2 separate regions of the Homo sapiens genome follow, and region 2 is linked to region 1. The links are contacts of gene promoters, found by promoter capture Hi-C in human tissues and cell types (Jung and others, 2019). All regions are on one chromosome and are shown on one strand. Each heading gives the region's core, a stretch centred on a gene start or on the middle of the fragment in contact. The rest is flanking DNA. Distances are from core to core; before and after follow the strand shown.

What was found. Contacts are between HindIII fragments. The study calls those that stand out against the background at their distance.
Region 2: a contact is called between a fragment that was not itself captured here and the fragment with the promoter of KDELR1 in region 1, in 1 of the 25 tissues and cell types used here (hippocampus).

What each region holds. Positions count from the first base shown.
Region 1 is chr19:48,388,469-48,395,854 of GRCh38, reverse strand. It overlaps KDELR1 (KDEL endoplasmic reticulum protein retention receptor 1), which reads left to right and starts at 4,304. Exons shown (of 5, transcript NM_006801.3): 1 at 4,304-4,587; 2 at 5,331-5,431; 3 at 6,144-6,302. The coding sequence starts at 4,497. It overlaps GRIN2D (glutamate ionotropic receptor NMDA type subunit 2D), which reads right to left and starts at 2,187. Exons shown (of 14, transcript NM_000836.4): 1 at 1,987-2,187; 2 at 919-1,197. RefSeq lists a silencer at 4,148-4,467 and an enhancer at 5,338-5,477. The HindIII fragment of the contact is 17,535 bases long and covers 1-7,386 here.
Region 2 is chr19:48,328,271-48,335,656 of GRCh38, reverse strand. TMEM143 (transmembrane protein 143) reads left to right here. Exons shown (of 8, transcript NM_018273.4): 7 at 1,460-1,649; 8 at 2,224-3,301. The coding sequence ends at 2,438. EMP3 (epithelial membrane protein 3 (MAM blood group)) reads right to left here. Exons shown (of 5, transcript NM_001425.3): 4 at 6,165-6,305; 5 at 5,104-5,356. The coding sequence ends at 5,187. Among named protein-coding and RNA genes, the nearest start is that of EMP3, 6.4 kb to the right of the region's middle. RefSeq lists a silencer at 1,264-1,783 and enhancers at 2,124-2,173, 2,184-2,273, 1,664-2,399, 6,106-6,255. The HindIII fragment of the contact is 4,580 bases long and covers 620-5,199 here.

The sequences.
Region 1 (7,386 bases), core at 3,055-5,554:
CCCCAGCTCCCCTCTTCCCCCAAGGACCCAGGAGTCCGGGTTCCGGCTCCTGTCCTCCCTTAAGGATCCCCTTTTGGTTTCAAACCCTATCCTTCCCAACATCCTGGGTGCCCCCCCACCGAGCTCTGGCCTCCCTAGTCACCCCACTTAGATCCTGTACATAGCACAGCCTGTCCCCAAGCGGGGAGGAGGAGGAGGGTGCCAGAAATTCCTAGGGTGTCCCTGTCTTCATTGCCCCCCACAGCATCCAACAGAGAAGAGAGGAGCGGCCACTTCGATCAACAGCTCCCCCCACAACCTCGAGTTGTGCTGCAGACGGCATCCCGTTTCCTCCCCCCTCACCTCCCAACACACACACACAACATCGGTCTCTCCCCACCCGAATCCTGATGCTTGGAAGAGGCTGGAAGGGTGTTCCAGAACCTTGAGGAAGGGGTGGGAGCTTGGGGCGAGGGGTGCTGGGGGCCTGGATGCCCTCAAGGTCCTTGGCGGGGGTATTAATAGCAGACTCATAGCTCTGACATGGGAGGGGAGAGCGAGAGGAGAGAGGGAGAGGACCGGCTCGCGATGGGGGGACTGATGCAGGGAGGGGGGTACAGGGAGAAGGTGAGATAGAGAGATGGAGGCACAGGGATATGGGGCATCAGGTATGTGGGGATGGGGAGAGGGAGCCAAGTGTCAGAGAAATGGGGGCGTGAAAGGTCTGAGGTGTAGGGACTCAGGAAAAAGGGGCTCAGAGAGGGAGAGAGAGAGGGTGGAGGAGAGTCCCTGAGGGACAGGGGAGCTAGGTGGGGGTCAAGACCCCTGCCCACCGTTCAAACCCCCTCCCTCCACGAGGCTTCTTGCCAACTTCCTCTGTCCTAGATTTGGGGGTCCACATTCCCACCACCATCCCTGCATCCCCTGTCCCCGCCTTACCTTTTCATGACCCTGTTCTGTTGGGGGGATGGCGGGGGGGCCAGGACCGGAACCCGGCGTCCAGCGACCCCAAGATTCCGAGGAGGGCTCAGAGAGCCGATGTCGGGGGGCAGGCCCCGGGGCGGCGGCAGTGGTGGTGGCGGCAGCAGCGGCAGCCCGGACCTCCTGTCTGTCCCTGGCTCCGTCTCTCCTTCCTCTTCCTTGGTCCTGTCCTGCCCTGTCTCTCCCCCAAGGTTGCGGCCACCTGGACTAGGCGAGGACGTGGCTACACATGTTGCTCTGGAAGTTGGGCCCCGGACATTGCAGAGGCTGTCGGGGTGTCCTCTTGCCGCCCCGACCCCGTGGGGATCCCCCCTCCGCCCACCCGGGGTGCCCCCCTCTGCCGCTTCAGCCCCGGCTCCTCCCCCCTTTCCATGTGTCCAGTCCCGCCTCTCCCTGGCTCACTCGCACCCCCGCTTTGTGCCCTCAGCCCCCCCACCCCCCCTTCCAGCGTCTGTGTCTATCTGTCTGTCTGGGTCACCTCTGAAGCTAGTGGCTGGTGTGTGCGTGTGAGGAGCGGGAGATTGCCTGCTTGGGGAACTGCTTGCCCCTTCCTCGCTTGGCCACCTCTAGACCCCCCCTTGACTCCCCCACTCTCAAACACAGGCAGAAACACACATACACTCACGCACACACGCACGATCTCACTTCCCTGGGATTCCCCCTCAACACCCCCAGAGCTTGAGGAGGGACACACACACAGACACACACACACAGAGTGGGGGGTCTAATGGGGGCCAGGCTGCCACTGCTGATAGGGGCTGTTTGGACAGACAGGAGGACACAGGCAGCCGGGGACGCCCAGACGCCTGGCCGGACGCAGGCAGGAGGCACAGAACCCAGGTACACACCATCCATCTGGGTTTGGGGGGGCCGGGGGGAAGGAGCGGGAGCCCCACGACACCCAGGCAGGCAGCTCAGGGTCGGTACAGACAGACAGACCCCTCCCTCCCTCCGCCGCCGCAGCGCTTACAGACACACCCCCCCTCCACCAGCCAGCCCCAGACACCCGGACACACAGATCCTCACCGGGCAGATGGCAGACGCTCGAGAGACCCCTGGGGGCCGGGCCGACCTACCCAGGCAACACCCCCAGCAGGCACCGGTGGCCGAGGGAGGCTGCGGGAGGCTGCGGGCGAGGGTGGCGGCGGCGGCCGCGGCTTGGAGGAGCTGGAGCGGGAGGGACTCACACACTCGCTGTGTTCTCGCACACACACACTCACTCGGGATGCGATTAACATTCAGTCCCCGTCTGCCACTGCCGGGAGACCCACAGCCCCCCCTCCTGGCCTCCCTGGGGACCCCTTCTCCTGCCAGGCTTGGGGAGGGGGCCGCCCCCCACCCCTAGCTACCAGCCTCTGCCTTCCTCCTGGGACAAGGGAGTGAGGGGCTGAAAATAAAAAGGGAGGAAGAAGTCAGGCTGGGGACAGGCAGGCAGGGACTCAGAACCCGGTATGGAGACACCAGCTTCAGAGCTAGACTCCAGGGCTGGGGGTTGCTGCCCTCTGCCCCCGCCCTGCCTTGAGGCTCTGGAAACAGGAGGCCTTTCCCTGACTTCAGTGTTCGCCACACTAAGACCCAAGCTGTGGCTTTTATTGCCCCAGAAGGCCAGGCCTGAAAACCAGGTCTCGACCCTGGTCCCAGGAGTCCCACCCCCCAGCCCCTCCTCCCTCAGACCCAGGAGTCCCCTTCTCTACTGGGACCCAGGAATTTGGGGACCGCCTCCAAGTCGGAGTCTCTTTTAAGGACTCAGTCATCCCGACTCTCCCCCGTACAAGCCACCCTCAGGGACCCAAGACTCGTGGATGTCACCCTTGGGCACCCCGTCCTTCCAGCCCTCTGAAGAAATCAACACGCCTGCACCCCTTCTTTTATTGAGGGACCCTGGCCTCCATCATCTGTGGGTACCCCATCATCCGGAAGGGAAGCCACGTCTGTCCCCTCATAGATGCAGGAGTCCAGACCACAGGCTGTTCCCCGGGGGTCCCACACCCAGATGCCCAGCATTCCCCTCCTGCTAGAGGGCTGGGCCCGGCACTTTTATAAAGCCACCCGTGGGGCTCTGGGGTAGAGCGTGGGGCAGGACACCGGGGCCTCTGAGGGTGGAAGAGGGTGTGTGTGTGTGGGCAGGGCAGAAACTCTGGAGCAGGGGGGAAGCCAGGGCCAGGGGCTCCTGAGGTAGTTTGGGTCAGAGTTTTGGCCTTGAGCCTCCTGGGTGAGGCTCCTGTTTCCTTCATCCTCAAGGTCTGGGAGAACAGGGTGAGGTGCACATTCCTGAAAAAGAAGAGAATCAGGGCCTAAATCTGTGGGTCGTAAAGGGAGAAACTGTAGATCTAGATTCTTAAGGTTAGGATGTTTGATCCATAAGATGGTGGGGGTGGGACCCTAAGTTCCAAGGAACAGCGTCCTAGGAGGGAAAAGGGCTGGGGCCCTGAACTCCTGGGTCTGAGGGAGGAGGGGCTGGGGCCCTGGACCCCTGGGTCTGAGGGAGGAGGGGCTGGGGCCCTGGACCCCTGGGTCTGAGGGAGGAGGGGCTGGGGCCCTGGACCCCTGGGTCTGAGGGAGGAGGGGCTGGGGATCTGGACTCCTGGGTCTGAGGGAGGAGGTGCTGGGGGTCTGGACTCCTGGGTCTGAGGGAGGAAGGGCTGGGGGCCTGGACTCCTGGATCTGGGGGAGGAGGGTCTGGGGGCCTGGAGTCCTGGGTCTGAGGGAGGAGGCTGGGGGCCTGGACTCCTGGGTCTGAGGGAGGAGGCTGGGGGCCTGGACTCCTGGGTCTGAGCGAGGAGGAGCTGGGCCTGGACTCCTGGATCTGAGGGAGGAGGGGCTGGGGGTCTGGACTTCTGGGTCTGAGGGAGGAGAGGCTGGGGGTCTGGACTCCTGGGTCTGAGGGAGGAGGGGCTGGGGACCCAGACTTCTGGGTTTGACGAACGGGCTGGGGCCTTGAGTCCTGGGTCTAGGGGAGGAAGTAGGTGGGGTATCTTTCTTGTCTTCTGGGGGATTGGAGTTAGAGTGCCTGAAAGCTGCAAAAGCTAGCAGCTGAGCCTCCGGGTCCCTGCAGGATTTTTCAAGCTCAGAGGGCAGTCTCTACATCCCTGCAAGGGCTGAGGCTGGTGTACTGGACTGCGTCTCTTCCAGAGACACAGACTGCCTGGGCGAACCGGTGCTGGATTTGGCACTTTCCGAACCCTGCGACCCTCCCAAGTTCCTATGGGGCAGCTTTGGGGGTGCGTTTAGCGCCGCCACGGCAAAGCAGGAGGTGGGCGATAGGGGGCGCCGGGGATCCAGGCCCCGCCCTCGGGGGCGGAGCCTCTCCTCCCGGACTCCTCCCCCTCTCGCTCTCCTCCCTCTTCCCGGCTCCAGCTCCGCCGCCAGCTCCAGCCTTTGCTCCCCCTCCCAAAGTCCCCTCCCCGGAGCGGAGCGCACCTAGGGTCCCTCTTCCGTCCCCCCAGCCCAGCTACCCGTTCAGACCAGCAGCCTCGGGGGGCACCCCCCCGCCAGCCTGCCTCCCTCCCGCTCAGCCCTGCCAGGGTTCCCCAGCCATGAATCTCTTCCGATTCCTGGGAGACCTCTCCCACCTCCTCGCCATCATCTTGCTACTGCTCAAAATCTGGAAGTCCCGCTCGTGCGCCGGTGAGAGGCCCACCAGGGCTGGCGAAGGAGAGAGATTGCGGGCGGGGGTTGGGGGACGTCGCAGGACTCAGGAAGGGTTTGGGGGCACTAGGGGCACAGGTTCCACCCCCACTGCTTGCTGGGGATCTCTCTTCTAGGTTCTGGGTCTCCAGGGGATCAGCTCCCTTCCCCAGACTGGCGGGGGTGCATACAGTTTCATGTGAATGGCTTTAGGCCCCCAATTCAGCCACCCCCAGCCCCAATCTGGGCAGCCCGAGGGTTCATGGACCGGGAACAGGGAACCATGGCAGGCGGGGAGGTGGCTGTGAGTTGGTGACGTGGACCGTGGCGGCCAGGAAGGGAACGGGAGGGAGGTGACCGGATCCGGGGCCTGAGGTCAGGGAAGGTCCTCCCTAGGCCTCACCTCAGGTCCAGACTGCGGGAGGACCCTGAGGGGCCAGGGGTAGCCATGAGGCCTAGTCTGGGACGGAGCCTCGGGCTGGAGTAGCTTCGGGGGCCTGGGCTGCCCCCTGGCTGTGGTCCGTGGGAAAGGGCCCTGCTCAGGCGGGGCGGGCTGGGGAGGCCTCCGGGGACAGCTGCACTCCAGAGCTGCCTCCAGGCTGGTCCCGGGCGCCCTGCCTTAGTTTATTGCCCATGCAGCCCACCCCCAGCTTCCTCTCTCCTTCTGTCTGTCTGTCTGTCTGTCTGTCTCTCTCTCTCTCTCTGTCTCTCTCTCTCTCTCTTTCTCTGTCTCTGGACCACAGGAATTTCAGGGAAGAGCCAGGTCCTGTTTGCTGTGGTGTTCACTGCCCGATATCTGGACCTCTTCACCAACTACATCTCACTCTACAACACGTGTATGAAGGTAGAGGCTCCACCCCACCTCTCTGGCCCCCACTGAGGCAGAGGAGCCGGGTGTGGGTCCCAGACTCCTAGGTCTGAGGGAGGAGGGGCTGGGGGCCTGGACTCCTGGGTCTGAGGGAGGAGGGGCCGGGGGCCTGGACTCTTGGGTCTGAGGGAAGAAGGGACTGAGGCCTGGACTCCTGGGTCTGAGGGAGGAGGGGTTGGGGGTCTGGACTCCTGGGTCTGAGGGAGGAGGGGCCGGGGGCCTGGACTTTTGGGTCTGAGGGAGGAAGGGACTGGGGCCTGGACTCCTGGGTCTGAGGGAGGAGGGGCTGGGCCTGGACTCTTGGGTCTGAGGGAGGAGGGGCTGGGCCTGGACTCCTGGATCTGAGGGAGGAGGGAATGGGGCCCTGGACTCCTGGGTCTGAGGGAGGAGGGGCTGGGGGCCTGGACTCCAGGGTCTGAGGGAGGAGGGGTTGGGGGCCTGGACTCCTGGGTCTGAGGGAGGAGGGGCTGGGGGCTTGGACTCCTGGATCTGAGGGAGGAGGGGTTGGGGGCCTGGACTCCTGGGTCTGAGGGAGGAGGGGCTGGGGGCTTGGACTCCTGGGTCTGAGGGAGGAGGGGTTGGGGGTCTGGACTCCTGCGTCTGAGGGAGGGGCCTGGACTCCGGGCTCTGAGCCTACTGGGGCACAGGCCTGTGAGTTGAGGCCCCTTCTCATCATCCCCCTCCTCAGGTGGTCTACATAGCCTGCTCCTTCACCACGGTCTGGTTGATTTATAGCAAGTTCAAAGCTACTTACGATGGGAACCATGACACGTTCAGAGTGGAGTTCCTGGTCGTTCCCACAGCCATTCTGGCGTTCCTGGTCAATCATGACTTCACCCCTCTGGAGGTAGGCGCCTTGCTGTGACTCCTTATTTGGGGGGATGGTTGTGGCAGAGTAGCTATGACAGGAGACCCTCTCACAGGCTTCCTTCTGCAGGGTGTGCCCAAACTGCCTTATTTTAGGATGCATAAGTTCAGTGCATGGGCTCTGGGGTCAGAGGAAATTAACACAACAGCAGCAAGACTCGCTATGTGTCAGTCACTACCCTAAGCATTTCACCTACTTACTTTTCTCAGCAGCCCCACTTTACAGATGAGGAAACTGAGGCTTAGGGATTCTTTTTTTTCTGGAGACAAAGTCTCGCTCTGTTGCCCAGACTGGAGTGCAGTGGCATGATCTCGGCTCACTGCAACCCCCGCCTCCCAGGTTCAAGCAATTATCCTACCTCAGCCTCCCGAGTAGTTGGGAAGACAGGTGCACATCACCATGCTCTGCTAATTTTTGTATTTTTAGTCCAGACAGGGTTTCACATGTTGACCAGGCTGGTCTTGAACTCCTGGGCTCAAATAATCTGCCTGTCTTGGCCTCCCAAAGTGCTGGGATTACAGGCGTGAGCCACCATTCCTGGCCCAGCCTTCTTGAATTTGAATTCCAAATCTGCTAGTTTCTTTTTTCTTTCTTTCTTTCCTTCTTTCTTTCTTTCTTTCCTTTCTTCCTTTCTTCCTTCCTTTCTTTCTTCCTTCCTTCCTTTCTTTCTTCCTTTCCTTCTTCCTTTCCTCCTTCCTTTCTTCCTTTCCTCCTTCCTTCCTTCCTTTCTTTCTCTTTCTTTCCTTTCTTTCTTTCTTCCTTTCTTTCCTTTCTTTCTTCTTTCCTTCCTTTCTTCCTTTCTTCCTTTTCTTCCTTTTCTTCCTTTCTTTCTTTTTTCCTTTCTCTTTCGACAAAGTCTCGCTCGGTTGCCCAGACTGGAGGCAGTGGCATGATTCTGGCTCACTGCAACCTCCACCTCCCAGGTTCAAGCGATTCTCCTGCCTCAGCCTCCCGAGTAGCTGAGATTGCAGATGCCCACCACCAAGCCAGGTTATTTTTTGTATTTTTAGTAGAGACAGGGTTTCAACATATTGGCCAGGCTGGTCTCGAATTCCTGACCTCA
Region 2 (7,386 bases), core at 1,660-4,159, 59 kb after region 1:
CTGCTTCCCAGGTTCAAGCGATTCTCCTGCCTCAGCCTCCCGGGTAGCTGGGATTACAGGCATGAGCCACCATGCCCGGCTAATTTTGTATTTTTAGTAGAGACGGGTTTCTCCATGTTGGTCAGGCTGGTCTCGAACTTCCAACCTCAGGTGATTCACCTGCCTTGGCCTCCCAAAGTGCTGGGATTACAGGCGTGAGCCACTGAGCCCAGCCTGCTATTGTTTTTTAATTTTAATTTTTTGTAGAGATGAAGCTTTTGCCATGTTGCCCAAGCTGGTCTTGAACTCCTGGGCTCAGGTGATCCACCCACCTTGGCCTCTCAGCGTTGGGATTACAGGCCTGAGCCACTGCACTTGGCCTACAGTTTAATATTTTAAACCATTTTTTCCTTCATTATAGAAAAGTTCAAACAAACACAGAAATAGGATAGTATGATAAACTCCACTAGCCAGCACCTAGCATCAACAATTAGCAATAGTTAATCAGATTTCCCCTGAAGACCTCCACTGTCCTACTATTGGATGATTTTGAAGTAAATCCTACCTAGACTTATTTGGAAATACTTTATTATGTCTCTAAAACATAAGGATGTATTGTAACAAAATCTTTCAAAGCTAAAACTCCTATCATCTGCAAACCTTTGGGTAAATCCATTAATACATGGCTCAGATGAGCAAACCAGTGCAGTGGTTGCTGAAAACTGTAGGCCAGATGGGGCTGGTGGTCTTGGAGCCACTGGAATGAGGGCACGTGTGTTAAAAATACAGATCCCCAGCCGGTGCCTTGGGTCACGCCTGTAACCCCAGCACTATGGGAGGCTGAGGAGCGAGGATCACTCCAGGCTGGGAGTTTGAGACCAGCCTGGTCAACACAGGGAGAATCCCGTCTCTACAAAAAATATCGGGCTTGGTGGCGCACACCTGTAGTCCCAGCTACTTAGGAGGCCAAGGCGGGAGGATCGCTTGAGCCCGGGAGTTCAAAGCTTCAGTGCGTTATGAGTTTGCCTGTGAATAGCCACTGAACTCCAGACTGGGCTACAGGGCGAGACCCTGTCGAAAAAAAAAAAAAAAGGAAAGAAAAGAAAGAAAGGAAGGAAGGAAGAAAAAGAAAGAAAGAAAAGAAAAGAAAGAAAGAGAAAGAAAGAAAAGAAAGAAAGAACGAAAGAAAGAAAGAAAAAGAAAGAAAGAAAGAAAGAAAGAAAGAAAGAAAGAAAGAAAGAAAGAAAGAAAGAAAGAAAGAGAGAAAAAGAAAGAAAAAGAAAAGACAGACCCCAAAAATCCCCAAATAGATCCCTCGACTGAGCTCTGGGGACCCGTACTGAAGAGGTCTGGGTAGGACCTCCCCGCCTCCTCAGGGGAGTAAGCGGCGTGGGCCGTGCCAGCGGGGGTGACCCCGGGGGCTGTGTATGGGTGGGGGCGCACCCCGAACTGAGCCCACGGGGCGCTGTCCCGCCTGCAGATGTTCGGGCAGCGGCGCAGCGCGCAGGCGTTGGAGCTGGCGCACATGCTGTACTATCGCAGTACGTCCAACAACTCGGAGCTGCTCAGCGCCCTGGCCCTGCGCGCGCAGGACGAGCACACCAAGGAGGCGCTGCTGGCTCACAGCTTCCTGGCCCGGCGGCCAGGGGGCACTCAAGGCTCGCCCGAAGGTAGGACGTGGCCCTGGGACCCTGCCCCCAGGGGCCACACCCCCGCGAGGCCCCGCCCCAGCGAGATGCGTCCCCACCCCCAGTTCCCACGGGTGAACCTGACGGGTTTGCGAAGAGACCCCGGCCCTCAGCAGACAGGACCTCCGAATCCAGACTCCGATCTTGGTGCCTGATGTGACAGCCCTTTCTTAACCTCAGCCTGGTTGGGAGTCTTGGCTCCATGGCACGGCCCCCTCCTGTCATTCTTTCCTCTACCTGAGCTGACACTCTCCCTACAAGAGATCCTGCGCGCTCCCTGTGTGGGCTCCAGGTGGTCCCCTTGCCTACAGGAGCCCCCACCTTCCCTGCCCAAGAGCCCCTGACTGGTCCCCAGACGAAAGCCCCAGAGCTGGGCCTTCTGGCCCTCTCGACCCTCCTGGGCCTTGTTCCGCTCCCCTCCAAGCCTCAAGATCACTCCTAGGCTTCTCCCAAACCCAGGCCCTTCCTGTTCTTTGCCCTACGCCCCTCCTTGCTGCTCCCTCGAATCTTCCCCGATCTCAGTGTGACCTCAGAACACCTGCCTCTCCCCTTGCAGAGACCTCCAGGTGGCTCCGGTCGGAGGTGGAGAACTGGCTCCTAGCCAAGTCAGGCTGTGAGGTGACCTTCAACGGAACTCGGGCCCTGGCGCATCTGCAGGCCCTGACCCCCAGCATGGGATTGTACCCACCCCCGGGTTTCCCCAAACTAGACCCAGTGGCTCCGATCACTTCCGAGCCCCCGCAAGCCACGCCCAGCAGTAACATCTCCTGAGTAGAACCTACCTCCCTGCCCAGTCAGCAGGCTAGGAACTAAGCCCCGCCTCCTTCACGACAGGCTGTCAATTACGGTTATTATACTTTTCACTCCAACTTCCAATAACTGACAGGTGATTATTTTTGCTGCACTGTGTGCTTAAGCAAAGCAGCCAATCAAAGCAGCTAGCAGTTGTTAAGTCTTCCCCGCCCCTTCGATGAACAGCCAATCAAAGCGATTTAGCTCTGCTTCTGTTCCATTTCTTAGTCCCACCCTCACCATAAACATCCAAGTGTGGTTTGGCTGAGGAGCTGAGGGTGTCTGCCAATCACAGCTGCTCAGCTCTGGCTTCTGTAAACCGCCAGGTAGAAGAGTTAAAGCTGCGCCCTCCCGAGACTATATATCATTGTCTTTTTCAGCCCGCTCCGGGCAAACTGCCCATCATGTGCACCAAGGCCGTTAGCCCTGCCTCCTGGCAAACGTCCAGTGACAGCTGCTGGGTTCCATCAACTTTGGGCAGCCGGTTGTCGCTGCAGGGAAGGAACCAATAAGAATTTCTAAAGGAAACCTGATCTTGCTATCAATTGCTGCTGCTTAAATGGCAGGCCAACTGGTCAGCTGCTGATCAGGGTGTCTAGGCTGAAGGAGTTGGAGACCTTGTGCTAGGTAGGTGAACCAGAAACCACCCTCGCCACCAAGACTCGCTCCCAACCTGGCTCCCGGCAACCTCAGGTGCCTTCCTCGCCCAGGTCTTTCACCCTTTCTACAGAAACTACCTCGGTCTGGATCTCCCCACCACCAGCAGCCTGTGCAATATTTATTGGTCTATCAATTTCTCCCGTCTCCTGTCCCAAAGTAATAAATCATGTTTAATAAGTCTGGATGAGGCTACTCTTAACGCACTGCCTTTAGGGTAACCCTGCTCTGTAGGAGTGGTTAAAAAATTATTTTTAAAAATCTAGATGAGTGGGATGGCTGCAGGAGTTGGAGGGAAGGAAAGCATTTGAATCCTGGAAAGAGGGGAGGGACTCTAGCTAGGTCTTGGGGTCCCAGACAGAGAAAGCTGTAGTCCTAAAAAGAGGCTGGGTTCATGGTCGGTGAAACAAAGACAGTCATAGAAGAGGATCTTAGAAGGATCTGATTCCAGAGGAGTCCCAGGGCCTGATGAACAGAGGAGATAGCGTAGCCATGTGCGATTGTGCAGATTTGCAGATTTTTTTTTGTTCTTGAGATGGAGTTTCGCGCTTGTTGCCCAGGCTGGAATGCAATGGCATGATCTTGGCTCACTGCAACCTCCGCCTCCTGGGTTCAAGTGATTCTCCTGCCTCAGCCTCCCGAGTAGCTGGGAGGCGCCTGCCACCGCGCCTGGCTAATTTTTTGTATTTTCAGTAGAGACGGGGTTTCACCATGTTGGCCAGGCTGGTCTCGAACTCCTGACCTCAGGTGATCCACCTGCCTCAGCCTCCCAAAGTACTGGGATTACAGGCGTGAGCCACCGCACCCGGCCTGTGCAGATTGTTAACTGCACAAAGGAACACAGCCACGGGTGGGTGGCTGTAAGACCCAGCCCATACCCCTACATGTATCCTGGTGTGGGGCTGGGTCAGCCAGAAGAAGGGGTGCCTCCTAATTTTTGCTAACGTGTCATATGGGCTAGAGGCAGCCTTTGGGGAGACAGGGGAAGTCTCCCTCTCTAGGACCCCAAATGTTCAGTCCCTAGAGAGGGAGACTGGGCTGGGCGCGGTGGCTCCCGCCTGTAATCCCAGCACTTTGGGAGGCTGAGGTGGGTGGATCACCTGAGGTCAGGAGTTCAAGACCAGCCTGGCCAACATGGTGAAACCCCGTGTCTACTAAAGATACAAAAATTAGCCGGACGTGGTGGTGGGCGCCTGTAATCCCAGCTGCTCAGGAGGCTGAGGCAGGAGAATTGCTTGAACCCGGGAGGCGGAGGTTGCAGTGAGTGAAGATCGCACCACTGCACTACAGCCTAGGTGACAGAGCGAGACTCCGTCTCAAAAAAAAAAAAAAAAAAAAAAAAGAGAGAGAGGGAGACTGGTTTCCTAGAGGGAAAAAGAAAGCTGTCTTCCCAAATGGAAAGTTAGTAGAAAGAAAAAAGAGTCCAGAACTAGCCGGGTGTGGTGGCTCGTGCCTGTAGTCCCAGCTACTCGGGAGGCTGAGGCAGGAGAATCGCTTCAACCCGGGAGGCGGAGGTTGCAGTGAGCTGAGATCGTACCACTGCACTCCAACCTGGACAGAAAGAAAAAAAGAGTCCGACAATCTAGAAACACACACTATGCCCGGGGTTCAGAGAGAGAGAGCAACAGAGTGACAGAAGCTTGAGCAAGGAGACAGGACTGGTCACTGCAGGCTTCCTATCCTAACAGGGTCTGCTGGGACCCAGAATCCAGGTTCTTCCCAGAAGTGTCTGAAGGTCTAGATTCAGGTGCCTCACAGAGGTCTCTTGGGCCTTGAGCGGGGAAGGCCCAGGCTCTTGGGTCTGTGGGAGGGAAAAGGTGCCTGGGGTCCCGGCTCCTGTGTCCTCGGGAGGAAGGGGTTGGGGGCTGGGAGATGGGCATTCTGAGGGCTGAGCAGCTGGCGGTGGGGACCATGTTAGGTTCAGGAGAGGTCAAGCGTGCGCAGCCTGGGTCCCTGGAGGCGGAAGGAAGGAAGATCAAGGCAGAGCCCGCGGTTAAGGTTTTATTTTTTGGAGGACGCGCGGCGAGGGGGGCCGGGAAGGGGCGGGGGCAGCCGAGCGAGGCGGGGCGCTCACTCCCGCTTCCGTAGGTGGATGTAGATGATGCCGCTGACCAGGGCGAGGGGGAAGGCCACCCAGGCCAGGGCGAAGCAGTATCCGAAGCTGCCCCCTCGCGGGTGCTTCTCCAGGATCTCCTCGGCGTGAATGGCATAGATCAAGGCGCCAGTAAACACCGCCACGCCTGCGGAAGATGAAAACCACACGTCATGCAGTGCCCCCTCAAGACTACATTTCCCAATATCCCATGGGGGCAAAGAAGCGCCGGAGGGCCCGTGGGCAGCGCCGCTGCCTGCTGGGAGTTGTGGTTCTTTCCCCCCCGCCCAGCGCCGTGCAACTGTAGCGCGGCCTTAGGTAACTGATTTAATCTCTCTAGGTCCAATAATATCTCTCTATCCATCCAAGGAATATTTTTGAGTGTGTTTCTATAAGCCAAACATGCAGTAGTAAATTCATAAACCAAGAGAGAAGCTTTGCAAGAACCTATAATGTTCCCCAAACTGACTGTGATTAAGTTAGCCCTTTGCACCTTAAGTCAAAAAATTAAAAAGTACGCAAAACTTCTTGAAGTATCTGATGCACAATAGGCACGCAAGAAACAGCGGTTGGCTGATATAAATACCATTATTATTATGATTTAGAGCTCTCTACTGAGGTACTAATTAGTTTATCCCCCCACGTCACGGCCGATCCCTGGGACCAAAACTATTTACCTATACCTCCTTCCCCAGCCCCGGCTCCCTGAAACTCTGAGTTCCCTGATGACTCATACGCACAAGCCATAACTATCATTAGCCACTGAAAACTACAAGTCCCAGCAATCCCTGGGGGCAGAGATGTAGCCCACGGAGGCACCTCTTGTGGCTCGTGGGGTGTTGAAAGTTGTTTTTTTCTACGAGAGGCCCATTCTCAGGGCCCCCAGCATCTTGACACACCCCACTCCCTTCTGCTCAATTCTTGGGGGATTAGGGTTGGGGAGGGGCAGTGCTCACTGGTGCAAAGCTGGCAGAGGCCGGTGGCATAGAAGAGACCTCCTCGTCGCATGGTGTAGAGCTGGAACATGAACAGGATGAAGGAGAGACAGCAGAGAATGAGGGAGAGCACCATGAGGACCTGCACCGCCTTCAGCCAGCCTGCAGTAAGGAGGACACAGAGGGGGACATCACCGTGGGTCCAGAGTTCCAGCTTCACCTGCTTGCTCACCATGTGACCCTTCTCTGCCCCATCCCTGCTCCCGTTTAGGCCCATACAAGCCTAGATACTTAGATGTATCACTTATTTTGACCTTGAGCCCTGTTACCTTGCTATATTCCCTTCTCAGTTCTAGTAGTTGCTTTGCCAATTTCCTTTTTCTTTTTTTTCTGAAACCAGGTCTTGCTCTGTTGCCCAAGCTGGAGTGCAGTGGTATAATCATGGCTCACTGCAGCCTCGTCCTTCAGGGCTCAAGAAATTCTCTCACCCCTGCCTCCTGAGTAGCTGGGACCACAGGCACAAGCCACCACAACCTGGGTAATTTTTAAATTTTTGTAGAGACAGGGTTTCCCTATGTTGTCCAGGCTGGTCTTGAACTCCTGGGCTTAAGTGATCCTTCCTCCTCAGCCTCCCAAGGTGCTGGGATTACAGGTGTGAGCCACTGTGTCTGTCTGCTTTGCAGAATTTTAATGGATTTTCTACATAAACAACATGTTTACTGGGAATAGAGACACTTTTTCCTAATTTATTTCCCATGCCCTTTATTTCTTTTTCTTGCCTTCTTGCATTGGCTACTCCAGTAAAAGGTTGAATAGAAGTGGTGAGAGCAGACCACTTCCTTTAATCTTAGTTTTGCATTAAATCTTTCACACAGAACTTTAGATAGATGCAGCTCTATTCCTTTAGAACTCCAATGCACCTGGCCCCACCCCTTTAGAACCTTAAGTGGTTTCAGCCCCATCCCCTTGGAATTTGGATGAAATGGTCCCAGGCATCCATTCAGAGCACCAGCCCCATCTCCTTAGAGCTTTGGAAAAATACTCTTGTCTTCTCAGAATCTTGGGAGATTTTTCTCTATTCTTTTTTTTTTTTTTTTTTTTTGAGACAGAATCTTGCTCTGTTGCCCAGGCTGGAGTGCAGTAGTGCAATCTCAGCTCACTGCAACCTCCACCTCCTGGGTTCAAGCGATTCTTCTGCCTCAGCCTCCCAAGTAGCTGGGACTACAGGCGCACGCCACCATGC